Regions from separate parts of the Homo sapiens genome. Here region 2 is linked to region 1. Evidence: promoter capture Hi-C in 16 types of primary human blood cells and fetal thymus (Javierre and others, 2016). All regions are on one chromosome and are shown on one strand. The core of a region is centred on a gene start or on the middle of the fragment in contact, and the rest is flanking DNA. Distances in the headings are between cores, read along the strand shown. Region 1 holds the start of B3GALNT1 (beta-1,3-N-acetylgalactosaminyltransferase 1 (Globoside blood group)). Region 2 has its middle 15 kb from the start of NMD3.

The links. Contacts are between HindIII fragments. The CHiCAGO score rates a contact against its expected background, and 5 or more counts as called.
Region 2: a fragment that was not itself captured here is called in contact with the fragment with the promoter of B3GALNT1 in region 1 in 1 of 17 cell types (endothelial precursors); the score reaches 5.3 in endothelial precursors.

Annotation. Positions count from the first base shown.
Region 1 is chr3:161,102,303-161,107,628 of GRCh38, forward strand. It overlaps B3GALNT1 (beta-1,3-N-acetylgalactosaminyltransferase 1 (Globoside blood group)), which reads right to left and starts at 3,047. Exons shown (of 5, transcript NM_003781.4): 1 at 2,933-3,047; 2 at 2,017-2,104; 3 at 1,125-1,215. It overlaps LOC124909453 (a long non-coding RNA gene), which reads left to right and starts at 2,379. Exons shown (of 2, transcript XR_007096147.1): 1 at 2,379-2,583; 2 at 4,269-5,326. RefSeq lists silencers at 2,602-2,851, 2,862-2,951. The HindIII fragment of the contact is 4,654 bases long and covers 1,149-5,326 here.
Region 2 is chr3:161,203,349-161,208,674 of GRCh38, forward strand. No RefSeq gene overlaps it. Among named protein-coding and RNA genes, the nearest start is that of NMD3, 15 kb to the right of the region's middle. The HindIII fragment of the contact is 821 bases long and covers 2,364-3,184 here.

The sequences.
Region 1 (5,326 bases), core at 1,797-4,296:
CTACTCTAGCTTTCTTTTAGTTCCTTAATGTCTCAGAGATTCAAGGAGTGCAGGTTATCTCCCCAGCCAAATCTCCCAACCTTCCAGCACTTGGGGCCCTACCCTACAGATGTTCTGTGGCTTCATCTTCCTTCCCCATGCTGATGCGCCCCCTACAAACTGCCGTATTTCTAGCTCATCCTCTCATCTTCCCCTAGCCTCTAATTCACAATATGCCAAAAGGACTGGTAACAAAAGCAAATCAGTATTTATAATATACAATTTTTTATTAGTATAAAAGCATTGTCCATAGTCCCAAGAGAGATGTTTGCCAAACAGCCTGCTGTTAAATGAACTGTAACTTTTGAATGTATCTGTTGTGCAAGGTCATTAAGAGTATCCTGTTTGATCCCACGTGCTTGACCCCATCCATGTGGCTATCTACCACACAGTGGGAGTTTACCCCATAGCGAGCAACCATGATCCATCCTGTTAAAAGCTTCTTTGGTCTGGACATGATATAGTTGTGAAAGGGACAAAGACATTTCCCAAAAGAGGGTTCTACCTGCATCATCCAATGGTGGATGGAACAAAGCTGGAGGCTGGGCACAAGAAGAAGAGACATCATCCATCCAAAGGGGAAAGAGAAAAAGTACTCAATGGAGCATTTTCTTAGGCATAAAGGGAATTGAGTCAGAACTTGAAGTTGAATATGACCCACCAAATTAACTTTTTATAGTTATTGGGTTTTCCTGAAGAACCATGGTATTTTAATAATTCAATTTTTTAGAAAATATATATATTATTAGAGCCGGGTGAGGTGGCACACACCTGAAGTCCTCGCTACTCTGCAGGCTTAGGTAGGAGGATCATTTGAGCCCAGGGGTTCCAGTCCAGCCTGGGAAACATAAAGTGGCCTTGTCTCTATTTTTCAAGCAAGAAAAAAGAAAAAAATATATTATCCAAAATGGCTTAGTAGAGCTTCACTCTTGAATTTCTTCAAATCCTCTGATGAAAGAATCGTACTAGAATATACAACAAACTTCGTGGCTGCATCAACGATACTTAAAACCTTGTAAAGGGCATTATTATGGGCATTTTTAACCAATTAGGATAATTTATAAGTTAAAAGTAGATGAACTTACCTGTGGAATTCCAGATGAAATTAAAGCTTAAGTTTTTTGTTGTTTTCTGTATTCCATGCTTAATTAAAACACTCAGATCTGTTGTGAACTACTGAACAGAAGAACAGAAAAAAATATATATGAGTCATAACATTAGGAATTATGACATCTAAAATCAATGTTGTATACTTAGCAAGTTGTTTTTGGAGCCATTTATTACATATCAACACTTTTTTCATTTTTGGAAAAGCCTTGATCCTCTCTTCTCGCTTTCAAATCACCTCATGCTCTAATCTGAAATTATACTTGGACACTGTTTTTTTGTTTTTTGTTTGTTTTGGAGATGGAGTCTCACTCTGTTGCCCAGGCTGGAGTGCAATGGCACAATCTCGGCTCACTGCAACCTCTGCCTCCCGGGTTCGAGCAATTCTCCTGCCTCAGCCCCCCGAGGAACTGGGATTTCAGGTGTGTGCCACCACACCCAGCTAATTTTGTATATTTAGTAGAGACGGGGTTTCACCACGTTGGCCAAGCCGATCTCGAACTCCCGACCTGAGGTGATCTGCCCGCCTCGGCCTCCCAAAGTGCTGGAATTACTGGCGTGAGCCACCGCGCCCGGCCTGGATGCTGTTTTGACAACAGTGTTTATTTTCAGGTCTGGAGTTATCCAATGGCCATTCATTTGAACGAACATTTTAGTCTATGAGGGGAAAAAAGTCATAGTCTCTTATCTGTTAGTAATAAACGATTCTGTTCTCCAGACTGATACGCGTTCAGTAATTTGTGCTTTTATCAGGCATCGACACATGCATACTAAGAGCACAAATTCAGCGCCCTTCTTTTGCTTAAGCCTCCTGGGAGAAGCTAAAAAACTTGTTCCCAGTTGAACACTGCAAACCCAAATTTTCCTTACCTCTGAAAACAGAAAAAAAGACATGGTTTGGCAATTTCTTCCTTGATAGCTTTTCCCACAACGCAGCCACCTCCTAAACGCAGGCAATCTGTGCAAAACGCAGAGGAAACAAAATCATGAAAGCCCTGCAAATCTCCCTCCTAAATCCAACATTAAGAAGGCGAACGGATACTGAATTCAAAGACTACCCGTACTTGAGGATGGCATCATTCCTTACTGCTTGGAAAAGTGAGACTCCGTTGCACCTCTAGGAATCTTTTTAAAACGCCCTGTATGTTCCTTAACACTGCCTGTAGGAATCCTGTAGCCCTAGCCCCGTGGGATTTCCTTCTCTCTCCGCCCGTTCTCCACATTCCCCACTTAGTTTCACATTCCTTCCCAATCCCTCCGACATCCCTGCGCCGGGGCCCTTCCCTAGCGCTCCGGGAAAGCGTTCGCCGCAGGCCTGTTAGGGGCCCACCAATACCGTAACACCGTTCCCGTCCTCTTCCTCGGCACCGCTGCAAACGCCCCGGGTCGCTACCCGGATTTGACGGTGGCTGGAGCGGCACGGGCGACGCAAGGCAGGTATTGCACCCTGGGGCAAGGCAAGGTGGACAACCAGCGGATGCGGCGCGGCCGCGGCCTGGGCCTGGGCCCTCCGCGTCGCCCACTGCCCCACTGGGCCCCTTCTCCCGCGCTCACCGGAGGCGGGCAGCTGCTCGTCACCGAGACCCGAGACCCACGGTGCGGCGGCTCAACCTGGGCCACGCTCCGCTCTAGAGGAGTGGGCGGTGCCTCCCGGCCTAGCTGCCGGGGTCTAGGCGTTTCCGAGGACGGCGCGTTCCGGGAAAGGCGGGTCCGGTGGCTATACCCTCCACCCAGTGGCAGGACTCAACCGCCTCGGAGACCCTGCAGGGCCGCCCTTCTCACTCACCTCCTGTGCTCGGCGCGCACCCAGCTCGGAAGCGGGAAGGTGGCCGGCGTTCTCTCCCTGCGCACACACGCAGCCTCCCCGCATCCGCACGCACGGCCGGGCGCGCGCAGACCACGCGCCAGGGCCGCGGCCGGAAGCCCCTGGCTGCACGCGCGGGCCCAGGCGGCCCCCAGCCCTGTGAGCTCGCATGGCGCGCCCTCTGGGTCCTCGCGGTCACCTTGCATTCCGAGCACGGCCGTGTTATGTATGCCTTTAGTTGATGCTGGCCAAAATTAGACAACTTAGTGGCAGACGTCGAGCTAGAATTTTTGTTTGAGATCCTTTTTCCCTGGTCGTCTTTCCAAACTGCGTGAGTGCATGGCCTCGAGGCGGCCCTGGAGGGATTTTCTTGTTAAACTTCATACAGAACTAATTAGGAAAGAGGAAATCTTAGGAGGAGTTCTTTGCTGTCTCAGAAGAAATGCCAGTTCTTCTTCCGGAATCGATGGGGAATGGAATGGGGGTAAGAGAGACACGTCAGGTTTCAATGGCCTGTGTATGGATGGGAGTCCCAGGGAGTTGCTTTTGTACACCTGAGCATAGCTGACCTAAACTCCCAGATCCATCTCCTCAAACTCCTTTTACCAAGATGTGCAGTATTGATTGTACTGGTCCTTTCCTCAAAATCAAGTGGGTCTGGATCATGTATTTAACCACTACCAAGCTCAGCCATGAGCACCACCCCTGATTGTAACCCACACATTTGCATCAAGACTAAACGTGGCCCACCATTTCTTTTTGTTTACTGACTCTTTGGCCTGACTGCTTCTTCCTTATAGCCTTTTTCTGCAAAATTACTTAGGATAGTTTGAAGGTTCTCTGAAAATAATAGGGGTGAATATAGAGATCAAAATGGATATACAACAAAAGTAAGTTTAGATAGTAGCAGTGTAAGTCAAGGACTTAGTTGACACTGCATAAATAATCAGATCTAAATTATAATAATCAGATCTAAATTATGGTTGAGATTGTTTTCCTGGTTCCAGCCTTGGCAGGTAGCTGTGTCCTTTGCAGAGGGTAAAGTGATTGCTGCCCTGCTGCACGCCTTTATCACAGCCATTCTTCACCCTACCTGGGCTGACAGTTCACCTCACTAAGTCAAGGAGGTCCATTAATAACAAAACCAGACAGGTTTCACTGCAGATAGATTAATATGCTGAAAAAATAGACCTCTTATTTGGAAGAATGCTTTAGGGCATTAATACTATATTTTACAAATTCCGTTTCTTAAAATTTTAGAAAAGTTGTATTTCAATACTCATTTTTAAAATGTTTTGAATGTCCTTTGAGTAACCAGCAGGTATATGTGCTCATAGCTGCCAAAACTTCCCTGGAATGCAAAGCAGAGCCATGGACAACAGATTGGGGTAAGAAATTCTCCTAAATGAAGTAAGTGAGACAAAAAGGCCCAAAACCTTTATGAGATTATTTCCTTTGAAGCAGTCTCCTTTTTCTTTGTGTAGCATTTATCAGCTTGTGATTGAGTCATCTATTGCTGCAGATCGAACTCTCCCAAAATATAGTTGCTTGCAAAAATGTCAATTTAATATTTCTCATAATTCTGAAGGTTGGTTATGTGGTTCCTCTCTGGTTTTGATTTGGCTCACTCGTATAGATACATTCAGCTGTAGCAGGGGTTGGCCAAGTTTTCTGTAAAACAGGATCAGATAGTAAATATTTTAGACTTTGTCTCTGTCACATATTCTTTTTTATTTAATTTTTATAAACTATTAAAAACCCAAAGCTATTCATAGCTCAAGGGCCATACAGAAGCAGGCTATGGCCTACAGGCTGTAGTTTGCTGATCCCTGAACTGGAGAATCAGCTAAGCTGAAAGTCCAAGGTGGCCTCACTCATGTGTCTGCTGTTGGCTCCATGTGGCCTCTTATCCTGCAGTAGGCTATGTTTTTGGTCTGTGGGCAACATCCAGAAGAGAGCAGGCAGAAGCTGTAAAATTTCTTAAGGCCTAGACTTGGGAGTCACACAAGATCATATATGCCAAATTCTACAAATCAAAGCAAATTGTGAGGCCTCTCCAAATCCAAGGGGCAGGCAAATAGTCTCTGCCTCTTGATGGAAGGAGCTGCAGATAATGTGGCCAGAACTAGCTAAACTAAGTGGCAGGAACCTTATTCTTGAAAGTAAATCATCAAACTTCAAATTTATGATATCTGATGGCAGCTATTGTTCTTACTCACTTCTCTCCCCAAACTACCCAAACCTGTTTATAATTCTGTGAGCACTCACTTGCCTCAGAACTTGTTTACAGATGTCTCTGCCATGAGATTATCAGCAACCTGAGGGAAGAGACAGGCCCTACCGCACTGCCTTGCTGTAATATATCTTCAATAGATA
Region 2 (5,326 bases), core at 1,524-4,023, 100 kb after region 1:
CTAACCATAAAGGAAAAGATTGCCACATTGGACTAAATGAAAATTGATAGCTGCTTTACATAGAAAACACTGTTAAGACAGTGAAAAGGCAACTCATTCACTAGGGGAAGATATTAGCAATACATATATTCAATTAAGGACTCTTATGACGAGTATGTGAAGAATTCCTACAAATCAGTAAGAATAAAACAGTAGATAAATGGGCAAAAGACTTAATAGGGACTTCACAAAAAAAGACATTCTAGTGACCAATACACTGATGAAAATGTGTTCAGCTTCTTTGACTAAGAAAAGTAAATTCATATCACAATGTGACCACTACAAATAGAGGTGTGCTGGTAAATGTTTAACAATGGGGCTTTCCAGAGGGGAAAGAAAGGTGTGTATGCATGTAGCACAAATTTACAAATAATAATAAAACATACAATACCCTTTATGGTAAATTCCATATAGCCAGTAGCCAGTTAATTCTTCTTCTTCTTTTTTTGTTTTGTTTTGTTTTGTTTTGTTTTGTTTTGAGACAGAGTCTTGCTCTGTCGCATAGGCTGGAGTGCAGTGGCACCACCATGGCTCAATGCAGCCTCAACCTCCTGGACTCAAGCAGTCCTCCCGCCTCAGCCTTCCCAGAAACTGGGACCACAAGTACGAAGCACTGTGCCCAGCACTGGGGGTCTCACCATGTTGCCCAGGCTGATCTTGAACTCCTGGACTCAAGTGATCTTCCTGCCTTGACATCCCAAACTGTTGGGATTATAGGCATGAGCCACAGTACCCGGACTGCCAGTTGATTCTTAAAGATGTTTTTGTTGATTTTTGCTGAACCCTTGTGTCTGTATCTAAAGTTGCAATTCAACCATGCTTTTACAAATTTTTATTTATGCTAGCCACAACATATCAACTACAAACATGGCACTTTAGAGTTTAATCTGCATTATTAACATTTTCTGTATCACTTTCTTAAGTCTGCATAAATCAACAAAATAATAAATTAAGCCTTGAAATTAGTAGCATTTCATAGTTTCTGTGGTGTAAATACTCCATTGCGGCCATTGTCAAGTTAGCCACGTGACATTGCTGGAGGGATGCAGAACAGCACACCGTGGTGTGGCATTTCCACAACACAGACATGGTTGATGTAAGTAACCTTAAGAGCACAGATAATAGACAAATATAGCGTGGAGGCGATGAATTTCAGATACTTATTACCTTTGTAATATATAATATATAATATAAATAAGTTGTATTATATATTATTTAACAAATATATTGTATATATATTTTGTGTATCTCTATATTATATATAGTAACATATAATATATAATATAACTTATTTAAATTTATATAATTTAATTTTTAATAATGTGTTTAACAACCAGCTCACAGAATTCCTGAAAATGTAAGCATTGGTTCCTTAGGGCCAGTATGAGCCAACTCTCACACACCATTCAACCTACCAAAATGAAAAGATAGCCCATACTAAGTGAGGCCATATGACCTGACAATTCAATTCCTAGATATATATCCAACAGAAACATACAAATATATTCACCAACAATGTGTACAAGAATGTTCATAGCAGCACTATTTGTAATAGCCTTGAAATGCAAGCAACCCAGAAGTTCATCAATAATAGAATAAAGTATGATCTACCCAAAACAAGAATGAACAAACTATTGTTACATGTACCAATATGGATGAGTATCATAAACATAATGTTGAGTGAAATAAGTCAGACCCAAAGATATACATGATGTATGTTTGTATTTATATAAAGTTCAAAATAGGCAAAAGTAATCTATAGTATGAAAGTCAGGATAGCAGCTCCTCTTGGGGTCAGAGTCCAAGGGGGCATCCAGTGTCCTGGTTATGTTCATTTTCTTATTTTGGTAGTTACAAGTATTTCTAGTTTGTGAAAATTTATTAAACTGTAAAATTTAAGATCCGTGCACTTTTCTGTGGTTGTTACATTTCAATGGTTCACTTTAAAACACTTAAAGCACCACTGCTTAAATTTAAAAAAATAAAACTGACCTAGGCCGGGCACGGTGGCTCATGCCTGTAATCCCAGCACTTTGGGAGGCCGAGGCAGGCGAATCACGAGGTCAGGAGATCGAGACCATCCTGGCTAACACGGTGAAACCCCGTCTCTACTAAAAATACAAAAAATTAGCCGGGCATGATGGTGGGTGCCTGTAGTCCCAGGTACTCGGGAGGCTGAGGCAGGAGAATGGCGTGAACCCGGGAGGCGGAGCTTGCAGTGAGGCAAGATCGCGTCGCTGCACTCCAGCCTGGGTGACAGAGCGAGACTCCATCTCAACAAATAATAATAAAATAAAATAAAACTGACCTAAATGACAATTCCAAGCTTTTAGCTTGGAATGTTACTTTTTAAGCAAGTAAGCTAATTTAATTACATCTGAAGGAGTAGAAGAGTAAAAACCAGTAGGTTAAGTAACGGGGTACCATTATTTCACCGTGAGACCCAGTACAAAAAATTTTATTCCTTTCGTGACTCAGTCTTTTCTAACACAAAACAGCAGTATTGGTGGGCTATACAAACCAGAAAATGGTTGAAAGAAAAATCTTACCAAATATCTTCATTAATCTTAAAAATTTCAGTACAGAATTAATGACAGATAAAAAGAAAATAAAAGAAAAAATGAATCCAAAAATAGCTAAACTTTTCATGCATCTAAATTACATCAGAAAATAATGTATCTAATACAATTCTACATTTTCCACATACGAAATTAATGATAAGAATGAAATAGCTTTTTAAAAAGTTTTCAAAGACATAATGTCTTCATTTTTTTTTCTTTCGGCCTGAAGCCACAGAGAGAAAACAGCTGCAAGCTAATAAAATGGCGAGGAAAGGAGTGCTTCTTAGTAAAAGTTATGGTTAAATGGTTAAACGAACGGTAGAAATGGAGTGAGGAACCCATCACCCATAAACTCAGTAGAAGGGAAGGAGTAGGTTTCTGCTGAGTAGGAGTGAATTTAACATTATATATTGCAGATAAAAATATTTTCCCGAGATTATTAATTCCCCTAGATCTAGACCTAGGTTTTCAAGTTAGTAACAATTTACTTCTGAAGGATTTCTCCCTTCATATAGAGCACACCAAAATATTACATACAAAAGGACATTAGCCACTGTTACCACACAAAGATCTCCTCTTCTAGAAGCTTTCTGCTACAGCATATTTCACATTTCATATATTTTATGCCTGTTTTGCCCTAGACATTCCATCCTATGTGAGTTACTTGGCAGAATTTAGTTTAAGGATATGTGGAAATGTCTAAAACAGTAATCATGTTAGATGGATGTGTAAGAAAGAAAGCCTTTCTTCAGGGTTAGCCTTACATTTTGGTCAAGGATGAGAACCATTGCTGGACATCAGCTTGTCAATAAATCTACCTATCTCCTTTGAAAGGAGTCTTTAATCAGCAATCAAAGGTCATAGAATTATGGTAGATATTTGACTCAGCACATATAACATTTTGACAAATATAAAAAATTGGTTCAAATTGACTGAACAGCCAAAGACATTACTTGGGTAAATCAAACAAGGTTTACATATCTGAATGTGCAGCACGAAGTCAGAGCAGTTAGGATATGTAGCAAAGAGATCAGCTCTTAATCTTTATTAACAGACAGAAGTGCTTACACTCGAGAATCCCTCCGATGGGCCACATCAGCAGATACACAACTGAGGATAGTAAGTTTGAGCAAGTGATGCTCACATTAGACCTTTTGAAGGTCAACTGCCCCTTCAGACCTAGTCTTACATGCATGATGCTAAAGACTGCGCCCTAGCCAGGTGTATCTAATTCATTGCAGAGTATACATGATATACAGTACACGTGCAGGAATAGGTAACAGAGTACTTGTATGCCTAAATAAACTTCTTAGTCTTTACTCTCAACCTCTCCAAGCTAAAGCAGCTTGGGCCAGATATGACCCTCAATACCATGCTGTGAAGTTAAAGCAAGCATCTATTCCCCAGATGGCCCTGGGAGTCATGGTAATGCACCCTTGGACCAGCTCTAAGACCTAATCTGCAGGCCTAGATTTACTCATTTTGGCAACAAATATGTATGAGAATCATGAGTTAGAAGAAGAACAAAAAAAGGTTGTGCAAAATATCTTCCCCAGTCATTGACTGTCCAATTACATAGTCATTTAGCATAAAAAGACAATTCTATATCATTATTTTGTATGCTGTTTTGTTGTGTTTGTTTTTACCTTCTAAATCTATGCATTGAGATATGAAGAGATTTATATCTAGCCATCTTTCATCACTTTAAGGCATCCTTTCATCAGGTGAAATGCTTATTTGCTTTGGACATGTCCTGCCTTTCAACCCAGTTTTGAATGATTGGATGCCAAGTTGTAGTGTCTCAGTGGAATCTCAACACTTCGGGCCTAACAATGGATTAATTCATAATATCTGAGCCTGCATAATAATGCTAGAAGTTACACATTTCTGCCTAAAGCTTAGCCTACCTTAACTACTCTTTCATGATGAAACTCTTCTGCATCCGGGGTCACTCTGCTGAGGCAGAGAGCTGATTTGGATCAGGACACAGGCTCAAACCCTGGCTTTACCACCTGCTAGCTTTGTAATCTCTTTTAAGTCCCATAGACTTTGAGCTTTGCTTCTTTCATCAGTAAAATGGGATTGAATCTACCTCATAAGTTTATAGGACAGTTGAGATGTTTGTAAACTTGTAAAGAACAGTGCCTGACACATAGTCTATGTTCAATAACTATCAATTGAGTCTAAATCTGACAGATGTAGTCTGTTGGAATTTACCATGTGTAAACATTTATTGTCTATAATCTTTACTGCCAATGATGGCTTTCATTTAAAAAATCTCTAAATTTCAGCAATAAATTAATTGCTAGAATTTTAGAGGATGGGTTTGTTGTATCCTGAGTAGAAATAAAAATTCTTGCAGCTAAAAGCATTTCCTTGTATGTGAAATTAAGGCTTGTGACTACATGCCAAGCAATTCACAAATAAGTATCTTATTCTGGGCTGCCACTTACCCTCTTGGAAGCTTTCTGAGAAAATTAATGAGTTTACCCCAAAATTTGTGGAATTCAAGTAAATTTTCACTGGGCTGTTTGATTGCTCACTCTGTTGGGTGGATTATAGTTTATTGGAGGGGGGCCATAGTTGACAGTGCAGCTGATGTACCAAGAAATAGGGAAAGAAAATCACCCCAAATAGGTATTAAGATTTTAATTGGTTTCACAAGGCACTCGGCAGACTCTATTCAGGAGCTAATGATGAATTTTAAAGAAATACCAGAAGAATGC